Linked DNA regions of Homo sapiens: region 1 is linked to region 2. Evidence: promoter capture Hi-C in 16 types of primary human blood cells and fetal thymus (Javierre and others, 2016). All regions are on one chromosome and are shown on one strand. The core of a region is centred on a gene start or on the middle of the fragment in contact, and the rest is flanking DNA. Distances in the headings are between cores, read along the strand shown.

The links. The method cuts DNA at HindIII sites, captures the fragments that hold promoters and counts their contacts. A CHiCAGO score of 5 or more calls a contact.
Region 1: a contact is called between a fragment that was not itself captured here and the fragment with the promoter of H4C3 in region 2, in 1 of 17 cell types (total B cells). The highest score is 5.3, in total B cells.

Annotation. Positions count from the first base shown.
Region 1 is chr6:27,075,848-27,082,860 of GRCh38, forward strand. No RefSeq gene overlaps it. Among named protein-coding and RNA genes, the nearest start is that of TRP-CGG2-1, 12 kb to the right of the region's middle. RefSeq lists a silencer at 2,909-2,988. The HindIII fragment of the contact is 1,731 bases long and covers 2,119-3,849 here.
Region 2 is chr6:26,101,133-26,107,968 of GRCh38, forward strand. It overlaps H4C3 (H4 clustered histone 3), which reads left to right and starts at 2,801. Exons shown (of 1, transcript NM_003542.4): 1 at 2,801-3,205. The coding sequence starts at 2,816. The coding sequence ends at 3,127. It overlaps H1-6 (H1.6 linker histone, cluster member), which reads right to left. Exons shown (of 1, transcript NM_005323.4): 1 at 6,280-6,836. The coding sequence ends at 6,338. RefSeq lists enhancers at 2,339-2,448, 2,473-3,163. The HindIII fragment of the contact is 10,429 bases long and covers 1-6,629 here.

The DNA.
Region 1 (7,013 bases), core at 1,734-4,233, 970 kb after region 2:
ATAAAACCAGTCAGCCTGCTTCTTTTTCCCTCTTTCATCCACATTCTCTTGTCGTGTTGCTTTTTCACCATGTCGTGATGCAGAACAAAAACCCTTGCCAGAAGCCAGTCCCATGACCTTGGACTTCCCAGCCTCCAGAATAAACTTCTTTTCTTTACAAATTACCCGGTCTAAGGTATTCTGTTATAGCAACAGAAAATGAACCAAGACATTTCTTTGTATAAACTTTTGAGTTGACATGTTTCTCTCAACAGTTTGAAGATACACTTTTTCTCAGATTGGACTTTCACTTTGTGGTTTCAAAAACCTATGGCAATCTGAATGTTATTTCTTCAGCAATCTTTTTTTCTCTTTCCTGTTGCTTTAAAAATCTTCCTTTAGTCTTTAGTATTGTTAATTGCACTACAGTGTGTCCGGTGAGATCACTTTCTATTTGATCTGCTTGGAATATGTTGTGCTTTCTGTGTATGTGAAGTCATATCTTTCCTTTGTTTGGAGAAATTATCAGCCATTATCTTTGTAAATATTGCCTCTTCCTATCCTGCAAGTTCTAAGTGTTTTAAAAATGTTTTCCATTGTTTTCACATCTGTGCTACTTTCTAGATAATACCTTCCATTTTATCTCTTTTTTTAATTTTCTGGACTATTTTTAGAGTTCTACATTTACAAAAAAATTGATCAGAAAGTACGAGAGTTCCCATATACGTCCTTATAGTGTGATATATTTGCAACAGTTGATGAGACAATATTGATGCATTTTTATTAACTAAAGTTCATAGTTACATTAGTGTTCACTTTTTGTGTTGTACATTATAAAGGTCTTGACAAATATACAATGATCATTACAGGATCATACTGAATAGTTTTATAACCCTAGAAGTCCTCTGTGTTCTACCTGTTCATCCTTCTCTTCTTCCTGCCATCCTAGATCCTGGCAACCACTGATCTTTCCACTATCCTTATAGTTTAGCATTTTCCAAAATGTCATATAGTTGGAATCATATAGTATGCAGCCTTTTCAGACTAGCTTCTTTCACTTAACAATATGCATTTAAGTTTCCCCGTGTTTTCTGTGTCTTCATGCCTCATTTCCTTTTATTGATGAATAGTATTCCACTGTATGGATATACCACCGTTTGTTTATCCATTCACCTGAAACGATATTGGAAACCCATGAACAGCCAACAGGCTTTACGAATGTCTATAGTCTACCACACCTGTTTCTTGTTTTAAAAAATTGAAATAGGCCGGGCATGGTGGCTCACGCCTCTAATCCCAGCACTTTGGGAGGCTGAGGAGGGTGGATCACCTGAGGCCAGGAGTTCAAGACCAACCCGACCAACATGGAGAAACCCCATTTCTACTAAAAATACAAAATTAGCAGGGCATGTTGGCTCATGCCTGTAATTCCAGCTATTCAGGAGGCTGAGGCAGTAGAATCGCTTGAACCTGGGAAGTGGAGCTTGCGGTGAGCCGAGATTGCACCATTGCACTCCAGCCTGGGCAACGAGAGTGAAACTCCATCTCAAAAAAAAAAACGAAAAAAAAATTGAAATAATTTAAAAAGTTTTAGTAGTCCCTAACTCTACTATCTTTTCTTTCTCCTCAGTCATATTCACTCTCTCCCCAATTCGGTTTTCTAATTTTACTACTTTTCTCCCCCATTCAGAGTTTTCTAGTATTACTACTTATGGAAATATTAAAAATAATAAATAGTGTTGTTTTACAGGATTTAATGTATTCAATGAATGGTATCTTACTAAGCAATTCACATTTTTGGCCAAATATTTTTTCTTGAAATTATTAACATAACATTTGTCATGGTTGTTGATGTTTTAATCATAATTACCCCAGGGTTTATTTCTTAAAAGCAGAATATTCTTTTACGTGGCTACAGTGCAATGATTAAAATCAGGAAATTAATATTAATACAATGGTACTATTCACTTGATAGAACATGTTTAGATTCAACAATTGTCCCAGTGATACAATTTATGGTAAAAGATAATCCAAGGTCACATGGTACATTAATATGCAGTTGTCATCTCTCTGTAGCTTCCTTCATCCAGTAAAAGTTCCTGAGTCTTTCTTTGTATTTTATGATGTTGTTGTCATAAAAGCTTGAGACATTTCTACAATGTGCTTCAATTTGAGTTTTTCTGATTTTTCCTTGTAATTAGATTCAGGGTGACCCCTTTGGCAGGAATACGGTAGAATTTATTATGAGTTCTCAGCGCATGATGTCAAGGCTCACGTGCTGTTGGTGTGTTTCATCCCAGGCAGTGTTAGCTGCCATCACTTGGTGTCTACTGGTATCTATTTGGTGTTCAGTGTAATGTTACTGTTTTACTCTTTGTCATTAGTAAATCTTTGGGGAAGACACTTTGAGGCAATATTGATATCCTGCTCACCTAAACTTCCACCTATTAGTTTTAGCACCCATTGATGATTCCTTCCTGAAGAAATTATTATTATGATAGTCATCGAGTGGTGATATTCTAATTTCATTATTTCTTTTACATTTACTAGTTGCTTTTTCATTGAAAGTTAGGTCTTTTCCTTCTCCCTCATTTATTCATTTTAATTGTGGACTAATGGATTCTTGTAGTATCCAATAGGTAACAATCATTTAAAATCATTATTCAGTTTGATTCTCAAATTTTCTCAAATTTGGCTGGAGGGAGTCCCTTCAAGCTGGCTCCCTATTTGACAGATTCTCACCATTCTTTGAGCTCATTCTTACTTTTTGACACAACAAGATTCTCTAGGCTCATCTTGCATCTTGTTTTCAATGTCATTTTACATAAGAAAAAGTATAGCAATGGAGAGGCCAAGTAATTCATCAAATATTGCCCATCCAATGTAACCCAGCCAGAAATCATTAAAGTTCACATGTAAACCCCGAAACTGTTGAGACAGCCGAGTAAAAAGGGCTCCCCAGAGAACCTCCGACCCACCTGTGCACTGGGAAAAGGGGGTGGAGCCACGAAGTTAGCGTGGTTTGCAGAGGGGAGGAGCCCAGCCTCTTGTGTTCCTGTGTGGTGGGGCAGGAGCAGGTTAACAGGCCTCCCTCTCACTCTGCTGAAAGTATTTCTTTTTCCTTTTTCGCGCAATAAATTCCATTTTTCTCACCCTTCTATGCATCCTCAAGCCTAATCTTTCCTGGTTATGTGACAAGAACCCGGTTTTTAGCTGAACTAAGGAGAAAGTCCTACAACACTGCCACCATGTGGCAATTACTCCAAATAGAAGGAGAGGCTGAAGGACACACAACCAGGATGCAGAGAAAAAGATGGAGACAGAGTCTGTGCAAGATGGGATTGATACTGAGACTGGGTTAGCCACCTCTCCTAGACAGTGAAACAGATCGCAAGAGAGGCTGACCCAGAAAGACACATGCAAAACAATGGGCAATAGAACACATGACCTGAATTAGATTATCTGGGTTCAAATCCTGATTTTGCTATTCATTATCTGTGTATCACTGGGCAATTTACTCAATCTCTCTGTGCCTGAATATCCTCATTCAAAATCAGGGATGAAAAGAGTACTTATCTCAAAGGGCTATTTGCTCACTTATTGCACAAGTAATTTGGCATCTGATATGAACCAGGTGCACCTCTAGATGAGGATACTGTCACATTGAATGAAGACCAGTGACCAGAAGCCTGCCTCACAGCCCAGCTCAGTGAGAAAAATAATTCCATTCTCACCTCTAATCTCAACCCTGTGTCACCATTTATGTATAGTCCTTTGCATTAGTGTCTGGAAAGGTCATTTTTTGAGGGCAGAATGAATAACCTATAGAAGGATCATTCTTGGGTATAATGAATTAAAGAAGTATTATGAAGCTTTATAAGGCAGGATTAGCTCATAAAAATGGAGGGTTCTTTTGCTTTTCCAGTCCCATTTGTTGTTTCACAGACAAAGAATAAAACAATCACTGATGGCAAAGACTGCAAACTGCCAACGTTCATCGGTAGAGCAAGGTGACGCTCGTCCTGTCCAGGCCTGTGGTTGGGATAAGCTCAGAAAGCAGAGTCTCCAGGGCTGGTCATCATCTATCATAACCCTGCGTATAAAGAAAGCCTTGAGAAAGAAAAGAAGTGACTTATTATGTGTCTTCTGACCTGGTTCTCATTTTTATTCAAAACATTAGAACCTTGGGAAGATGAAGAGAGGGCCAGAAAAATGGGAAACCCTGGATACAGAAACTTGGCTAGCTGTTTACTTTTTCACTGTACATCTTTCTATTGCAATAGTTAAACCCCAATTAAGACTGAAATAACTCCTGAGGCAAACAAACGTAATTGTGGAGACAGAGGGGAAAATGTACTTCAGGGACTAGGATCCTGCAGAGGGTTTCCGTCTTCCTGACAGAAAAACAACTTTGAAAATTTGAGTCCTGGTAATAGTTTGTTAACCAAGAACTCTACAAATCCAGAAGGCACAAACATGGCTTGGGGAGCCTTACCTTGCCAGAAGGACTAACCCAGAGCTTTACTACACCATAGCTACCAAGGTGAGTAGACCTGACAATTCTTTTATTTATTCACATATGCCATATAATATTTCCCTCAGAAGTATGCATCTTGCTTTGTTCTTTGACTAAGCAAGGGAGTTTATGTGAGCCAGAGGACCTTGACTCTGCATCTAATCTTTACCTGGGGTCATAAACATGAAGGGGACCATTTCCAGAAGATGACCCTAGAAATGCTTGAGCATCTTTGTCCCAGTGTTCAGGATCTTGTACTGTAAGAGAGGTCCGGGGTGGTTCTTCCTATAAGGTTCCCTCTTTGGTTTCATCCAAAAATCACAAAGATAAAAAAGCTTTTCAGGTTTCTAGAAAAAACTCATTTTTAGGCTTACATTTTCACCTGCATTATAACTCTATCAGCATTATTAGCTTTCATCAAATTTCTTCATATCGTTTTTGGTGCATTTCTGTGATTTGCAAGTGGGCCAACTTTGTCTTTACCTATTAAGTAGTTAATTCATTAAGAAAGAGATAGAGAGAGTGTGTGTGTATATCTTGAAGGTTTTCTTTCTGCATCCATCCTTAAAGTCTCCTAATCCAATATATAATATTGTATCATATACAGAAGTCAACTTCATTAACCATATGCCAGTTTAATGGAAGCATCTATTAACAATCATTATGATTAAAAATCATACTTGCTCTTCAGAAATTTTCCACTTTTATTTTTGGCCAGGCTATAAGTAAGTATAACCTGATGTAACCCTGTAAATTTACCCTGGCATTATGTAGCAGGGAGCACTAATCTCATTTTCAGTTGAGAAAACTGGAGCTGAAATGGGTGCACTTCCTTACCTGCCTAAGCTATTAGGTATTAGAACTGGATGGAGCACTACACATCTATCTGAATGTGAAGCATGTTTTTTCAAATAGTTTTCAATCATGATTCCAAAAACAACTTGGAAGACCAGTCACCCTTCCTTCCTCTGATATTTTTCTTATTATTCAGTCAAAAAAATGGAAGTGTCTTATTAGTATTACAGAAGCTAATCTCTAATCTGAATCAGAGCTTTGGAACCTTGGGAAGATGAAGAGAGGGCCAGAAAACTGTGAAACCCTAGAAAAAGATAAGAAGAAACAAACATAAAAATATTTGATAAGGACATCAGGGTGGTGAAGTGTATGCAGGACATTCATTTTTGACAAATTCCAGGTTTCTGACTAAATATGTAACCAGTTCTTACTCCAAACCTATTAGTCCATACTGCTCTTCTTGTTATTAAAGCCTGTAGTTCATTTCACTATAGGCTATCCAGTTCAGATCATGTAATGCTTTGTTTAATGCATTGATATAGATGTTAGTCTCTTCATTTGGCACTGGAGGAAACTGAGGCAGAAAAGCAATAACTAATATTCCAAAAGTTATAAAGTTTCCTGGTATAAGACCTGAGTACAAGCCTAAATTCAGGCAGTTCACACTGCCAGGGACCTTTAAGACAAATTAAGATAAATCTAAGGCATCTCTTAGTGATTAGTAGAAAATGAAAGGGGACAAGGCTTATAGAAAGGTTAGATCAAACATCCTGGTTTCTTTTGTTTTGGGGGATTTATTTGTAGTTTGATGTAAGTTCTGGAAAAGAAGTGAGATTGGAGAGGTTGATTGTGAAAGAGTAAAATCCTGTTCAGACAAAAAGAGTAAAAATTAGCTTGGACTGGTAAAGATCAAAGTAGCTCTCCTGTTACCAATGTTGGGAGAACAGACACAGGTAGATCTGGTTACAGAGTCAACTGGACTCACTGGTTACACAGCAGTTGTAAACTGCCATAATTGCACCATTTGAGTGATGACTCTTTTCTTACCAATGTAGCCCCAACCTGCCTTGTATATCCAGACATCAGAGATCTCTAATTTATAAACTGCCTTCATCTCGTGACAGTATGCAATAGCTAATTAATCTACCTCTCCTAATGGCCCTTGAGAAACATCAACACATCAACAACTCCGCTTAGGGGCCCCTCAGATCCATCAGTGGGAACTCAGACCTCTCCTAAATGCCCTTGTAGAGTGACATTCTATGGTTCCTCTAGAGCACCTTCTCTGGCTACATCCAGTCCATGTATCTCATTGTTTTTCAGCAACAGGCTTGTTCCTGAAGGTCTTTGGCTGATTAACCATTAACATTTGAGGTCCTACAGTGAAATGCTATGCAGTTTGACTTTATATGGAGTACTTGGAAAACCCACTGAAAACTTGTAAGTACTGAAATTACAGATTCAGTTCGGGGTCTTGAAAGACAACTCAGAAATATTAAGGAATATAAATCAAAGATATGAAAATAAGAAGAGATAAACCAGAAATTGTTATACTAATCAAAATGATAGACATATAGGCATAATGAATAAAAGAAGTATCACAGAAGATAAAACATTGTTAAACTTGAGAAATGTTAAAGATGTTGAAACAACATGATTTTATGAGTGTCTGTCTGTTGAATGTGGAAGAGGTAGAGGGGTTAAGGGTGAGCACCAGGTTTTT
Region 2 (6,836 bases), core at 1,551-4,050:
TTTTTGTGAAATAATTTAAACTGAAAAGAAAAAGCAGAGATTTTTTTCTAGAAAAGTAAGGAGTGGAGGTAAAAAAAAAACACAGCAGAGACACAGGTATGCTACGGAACCAAAGGTGTGCCAATGGTACTGACAGTTTAATTCAGAAAAAAATGAATCAGAAAATGGATATTTTTAAATAAGTTAGGTTGCTGAAAAAGAGAAATGCAGTGAAGCCTTAGATGGGAGTGAGATAAATCAGCCATTGGCTAGAGGAGTTTCTTGCCCAAGACCAGTGGTGATGTCCCCAAATGCCTGGAAACAACTGTTGTGACATTATAAAGCCCCCATAGTCTAAGTTGGGTGAGACTATACTTATGCATTTTCTCACCTGTAATATAGCTTAAAAGTATTTCTACTCTGGGATTTCTTTACATTTTACTAAAGCGCAATTATATACTTAAAACTGATAGTGTATGCTGGGCTGCTAGTCATTCTCAACCCTGGCCAATTATCAGAATTGTTTGTTGAATATATAGGTGCCATATATAGGTGCATACACACACACACACACACACATACACACACACACACACACACACACACCATATTTCATTCCTCATATCGAATATTCTGAGAGAGTTAGTTTGTGGAGGGTAGTTCTGGACAATTTATATTTTCATAACACCTCTGGTTATTTTTTTTTAAGTAGAGATGAAGACTTGCTATGTTGCCCAAAATGGTCTTGAACTCCTGAGCTCAAGCGATTCTCCCAACTCAGCCTCCTGAAGTGCTGGGATTACAGCCGTGAGCCACTGCATTAACCTCTGATTAATATCATAGATTAACCTCTGATTAATATCATAGATTTATTTGTTTGAATGCTTCATGTATCCTCTCAACCACAACTTGTTTGCAGAGTTTTAATCTGAAGGGCTTAGGTCTCTTGTTCAATGAATGAGTTTGATCTGATGGGTGAGAGGAAGGTGAAATGGAAAGCGAACGAGAAGCCATACAGATTAGGCGAGTGAGCCTAATCTCTCCCTAACCATAAGATTGAGTATGCCTGAATTCTTCGCAGAGTGGAAGAATCCATTTTAAATATATATATCTACATGTACAGATCCTTTAAATATTTGTTCTGACATTCATTGTTTTTGAGTCACTGTCATTGAGAAAAGTTTAGAAAGGAGATATTAGGAGCAGGAAATAGAAAGTAAATAAAATATCAAAATAAAAATGGGGTTTTATAAATGATATAATAGGCAAAATAAAGGAAAGGCATCCTAGACCTCTGGTTAAAATGAAGATGGCACTTGGCGAGATGTGTTCCAGGGTAGTTCACATGATGTATGTTTTCAGAGAATTGTCATATTGCATATGCTGCTATATTTTTTATTTTCATGAATTAAAAGGCATGTTGAGATTTCAGAGTTTTACTTATGATCTCAGACTCTGCATTTTTTCTCTGTAATGTTTGACATTTCTTCCTAGCTAAGTCTCTAGTTATAAGGTCTGTGTTGTGGCATGTGGACAGTGAGTGGAAGAACCTAAGAACTCAATTTGGGGCAGAAGAATGTAATCAATTATTTCAGAAGTGATACAAACAATATGACATGTAGAGCATTCTGGCCTTTCCTGGGTCTTTTTTCTCCATTCCTGGATTTCTTCTCTTCATGTGAGCAAGTCTGAGGTTACTATATAATGTCTCTCACAGGCCACAGCCCCATTCTAAATATTCCCAATAGAAATTCATTTATTAACCAGAGAGTGGTGGGTGGGGTTGTTTTTGTTTTTTAAACAAAAGTGGATCTTATGGGCATTCTGGAAAGCTCCCGCAGGAAGCTAAGAATAAAATTTTGAATTGAGAAGTCCCTTTCTTCAAACCACATTCAGACCCAATTCTGCTATTCTATTTATTTTTCAAGGGGATTAGCCTTATTTTAACACCAATAATCTTATCACAAAAACCTCCCAGAGGAAGACCCTGTAGATTTTGTAATGACCTTAATCAAGTATTAGCCCTACACTTCAATTAATCCCCAACTGTACAAAACGAATGTTCTTTTCTCTAAAGCTGTAGCAAGTTGAAAGGGGATTAAAAACGGAGGGAAGGGAAGAGTGTTTGGAATTTCAGGCACAGCAAACAGGCACAGCAGACCAGGAAGAGCGTCCCGGGAAAACATATTATCCAGACTTAAGTTTATATTCCCTGTCTCTCTCAGACTTTTGCAGAAAAATGAGTCATTCAACAAATATTTGAATCGAGATAGGGAAAGTGACGAGGAAGAAGTTTGCACTTATGAGGTTTTAATTTGCAATTATTTGGCTACCTTTTTGCCTTCCCAAAACATAGGGTCTTTAGGAGTGAAACTTCATAGCCAAACTTATACCTTGTCCAGCACAGAGAAGGCCATCAAAATGCCTGGTTTAAATAAAAATATTAAAATGATTGGGAGGGTAAATCCCTTGACCTATAAATCTGACCTCCTTTAAACATTATTTGTATGTTCCCCAATAAACTATTCCGTAATTTATTAGTTAGCAAGTGGAAATAAAAAGAAATGTGGAATGGGGCTATGCTTAGCGTCATTAAGCTGACAGGAATACAGCGCATTCAACTTGCAAACACCCTTCCACTCCCACAAAGAGCAAGCTGTCACTGGCCAATCAAAACAATGAACCATAATGAAACAGTTTTTCTTGCTCCACCCACTTGGTGACCAAATTTGAAAAAAAAAAAAAACCGCGCCAACTCATGTTGTTTTCAATCAGGTCCGCCAAGTTTGTATTTAAGGAACTGTTTCAGTTCATACCTTCCACTGCGATAGGAATCATGTCTGGTCGCGGCAAAGGCGGAAAAGGCTTGGGGAAGGGTGGTGCTAAGCGCCATCGTAAGGTGCTCCGGGATAACATCCAGGGCATTACAAAACCGGCTATTCGCCGTTTGGCTCGGCGCGGTGGCGTCAAGCGCATTTCCGGTCTTATCTATGAGGAGACTCGAGGTGTGCTTAAGGTTTTCTTAGAGAACGTTATTCGAGACGCCGTCACCTATACGGAGCACGCCAAGCGCAAAACTGTCACAGCCATGGATGTAGTATATGCCCTAAAACGTCAGGGGCGCACTCTGTATGGCTTCGGCGGCTGAATCTAAGAATACGCGGTCTCCTGAGAACTTCAAAAAACAAAAACAAAAAAACCCAAAGGCCCTTTTCAGGGCCGCTCACAAAGTCGTTTAAAGAGCTGAAATGCGTTGCGAGAATGAGTTTGGATGACAGAAATAACCGTGACATCCTGCATAAGAATGAATTGTGTTTGCCATGACCGGCCACACTGTGACAAAATTTCAAAGCATAAAGTAGGCATAGAGAGGTAAGCGCTAATAAAGTGATTGGCTCCACAAAAAGCATTTTGCTGGGCGCAGTGGCTCACGACTGTAATCCCAGCACTTTGGGAGGCCAAAGCTAGTGTATCACTTGAGATCAAGAATCCGAGACCAGCCTGGCCAAAATGGTGAAACCCCCTCTACCAAAAAAAATACAAAACTTAGCCGGGCGTGGTGGTCTGCACCTGTAGGCCCAGCTAGCCCGGAAGCAGAGATTGCAGTGAGCCGAGATCGCGCCACTCCCCTCCAGCCTGGGAGACAGAGAGAGACTCCTCAAAAAAAAAAAAAAAAAAAAAAAAAAAAATTATGTATTTTAGAGCATTCTAAGAATGGTACTTTGGACTTAACCGAAGGGCTGGAGGCGCGTGTTGAACAAAGGTTATCACCTTTTGGCTCATGCGGCACACAGCTATGTAAATAAAGCATCTTTAGGGACAAGCTCTCATTTGCGGAGGGTTCTATGGCTGTTGTCCTATTGGCCAAAACAAAGTGGTCTAAGTCCGGGCGCGGTGGCTCACGCCTGTATTCCCAGCAGTTTGGTAGGCCAAGGTGGGTGGATCACGAGGTCTGGCGTTCAAGACCAGCCTGGCCAAGATGGTGAAACCCCGTCTACTAAAAATACAAAAATTAGCCGGGCGTGGTGGCGGGCACCTGTAATCCCAGCTACGTGGGAGGCTGAGCCAGAGAACTGCTTGAACCCAGGAGGCAGAGGTTGCAGTGAACCGAGATTGTGCCACTGCACTCTAGCCTGGGTGACAGAGCGAGGCTCCATCCAAAACAAAACAAAACAAAAAAGTGGTCTAATAATCCCCAGAACTGGAGGAAGAACCATAACTTATTGATTTTGTTTTTAACCTTATGTATGCCAGGCATGCTAGCCTTGTATACATACAAGGCTAGAGGAGCAAAGGTGCAGGAAGCCATCTTGAGGGAGTCCCATATTATTGAGAGACCGGCCAGCTGCTGGGAGAGGCTAGTTGTTCATCCTCACTGTATGTGATGAGAATCTGGTGACAGTCCATTGCTGGGCACAGCATTTAGGCAAAATGGCTCTCTGCTATGTCAGGCAAGTGAGGCATATTTTTGCACAATCCTAGTAATTCCGAACTCATTGGGAAACAATGGCAATTACATCCAAGCAAGGAAAGGTCTGTGGTTGATTTTATCTATACAAATTTAAAACATAATGTTTACAACCTTTCATTATAGGACACAATTTTTAAAAAGATGCCAAACTATACAAATAAGTTCAGAAAAGTGAGGTACTATTGAACCGTCTGGAAAACATAAATGTATGTGAAATAATGCAATGCATAGTTTTGCAGGGGACTTTGTTCAAAGTTTCTCGAAATACCATGGTCCAAAGTAGACTAACATTAGCATTGGTTATTTATGATGATCAGTAAGAATACTAAATCAAAAATCAAAGGAAAATTAAACTATGTCTGTTTAAAGAGAAACGTAGTTTACCTCAGACTGAGAGTTAAAACAAGTTTGTGATTCAGGAAGGTGGAATTCAGAACCTAATTGGGCAGCCTCCAACATTTCCATTAAGGTTTGGATTCTTAAAATTTTTCAGTCTTCGGTATGCTCTGGTAGTCTGATGAAACTTACAGATTCTTTTCATAAATAAGATACTTAAAGTAATTCATAGGGTTACAATTGTATTAGACCAATAATATTAAAATAATTATCAAACCACTTGACCGTAATATGTGTGTTTTTGTTGATATACCTAATAGTACTTCGGAAATAAGCAAGCACGATTTCCAGATTCTTGCAACAACTATAACCTACAAATTTGTTATTTCTATCAGTCACACACAATGGAAGAAAATTCTAAATTTCAGCTACAGGATAATGAATAGATGAAAAACAACAACAACAACAACAACAAAAAAACTCCCCTAATCCATATTCTGGGACACCTTGATTCCTATTTATTGATCCCTTGAAGTCAGTGGATAGCATATTAAGAAACAATAGTTACAATGACACCACAGAAAGACTAGAATGTAGTACTTGTGTTAAAAAAAAAAAAAGTATCAGCAAGTTATGTTTGGATGCCAAATTGCTCTCCACTTCCCTTCCCTGACACTGGCATTTCCAGAACTTAGATGCTCTTACATGTAAAAGCCTCCTCTAGTGCACCATCGAGCTTTTCAGGATTGGACATCAGACTTTTTAGTTCCTGGACCTCTAGATATACGGCAGTCTCTGACAAGAAGCCCTTTTTCTGTTTTAACTTTTTTTTTTTTTAAGTTTTGAGACAACGTCTGACTCGCTGTCACCCAGGCTGGAGTGAGGTAGCACCATCATAGCTCACTGTATCCTTAAACGCCTGGGTGCAGGGACTAAGGGAGCGTGCCAACCATGCTTGACTAATTTACTTTTTTGTAAAACCAGTAGTCTCCAACCTTTTTGACACAAGAGACCGTTTTGTGTAAGACAATTATACCACGGACCAGGGGGTGCAGGGGCTGGGAGCAATGATTTCCGGACTAAAACTGCTCCAACCTCAGATCATCAGGCATTAGATTGTCACAAGGAGCCTGAAACCTAGATCCCTTGCATGTGCCATTCACAATACAGTTTGAGCTTATGAGAATCTATCTAATGCTGCAGCTAACCTGACAGGCGGTGGAGCTCAGTTGGTTAATGTTCGCTCACCCCTCAGCTGTGCGGCTCAATTCATAACGTGCCATGGACAGGGACCGGTTACCGGTCGGTGGCCGGGGAAATGAGGACCCCTGGTATAGATGGTAGTCTGGCTATGTTGCCCAGGATGGTCTTGAAGCCTGGCCTGAATTAATTCTCCAATCTCAAGCCTTTTCAACTCAGCTGCATCACAACTTAAACCTATAGATAACTGTCACAGAAACTTGTTTCCAGTGTTACGCCATCTTAAAATAATGTGGGTGGCTCTTAAAAGAGCCTTTGGGTTCTTTCCAAATTGGCCTCCCGGAAAGCTCTTTACTTCTTAGATGTGGCCTTTCTAACATTAACTTCATGATGTTGGGTCAATTTTGACTTCGAAGCCCTTGCCTTCACTGGGCTCTTCTGCTGTTGCTTACCCTTGGCTCCTTTAGCCTTTCTCCCGCTCCTAACAGTTTTAGGAGTTGTCGCTCTCGGCTTCTTGGCTCTCTTATTGGTTTTAGCAGTCTTTGGTGACTTGGAGTCCCTGGATAAAACCAGCTTCTTGGTCTTGGCAGAAACTGACTTTTTAGCCTTGCTTCTGGTAGATTTAGGAATCACCTTCTTACTAAGCTTAAAGGAACCGGAAGCACCAGTACCCCTGGTTTGCACCAGGATTCCCTTGTTCACTAAGCTCTTGAGGGACAGTTTGATGCGGCTGTTATTCTTCTCTACGTCGTAGCCAGCAGCGGCCAATGCCTTCTTGAGCGCAACCAAAGACATACCTACTCGTTCCTGTGACACTGAAAGGGCCTCGGTGATCAACTTGGACACAGAG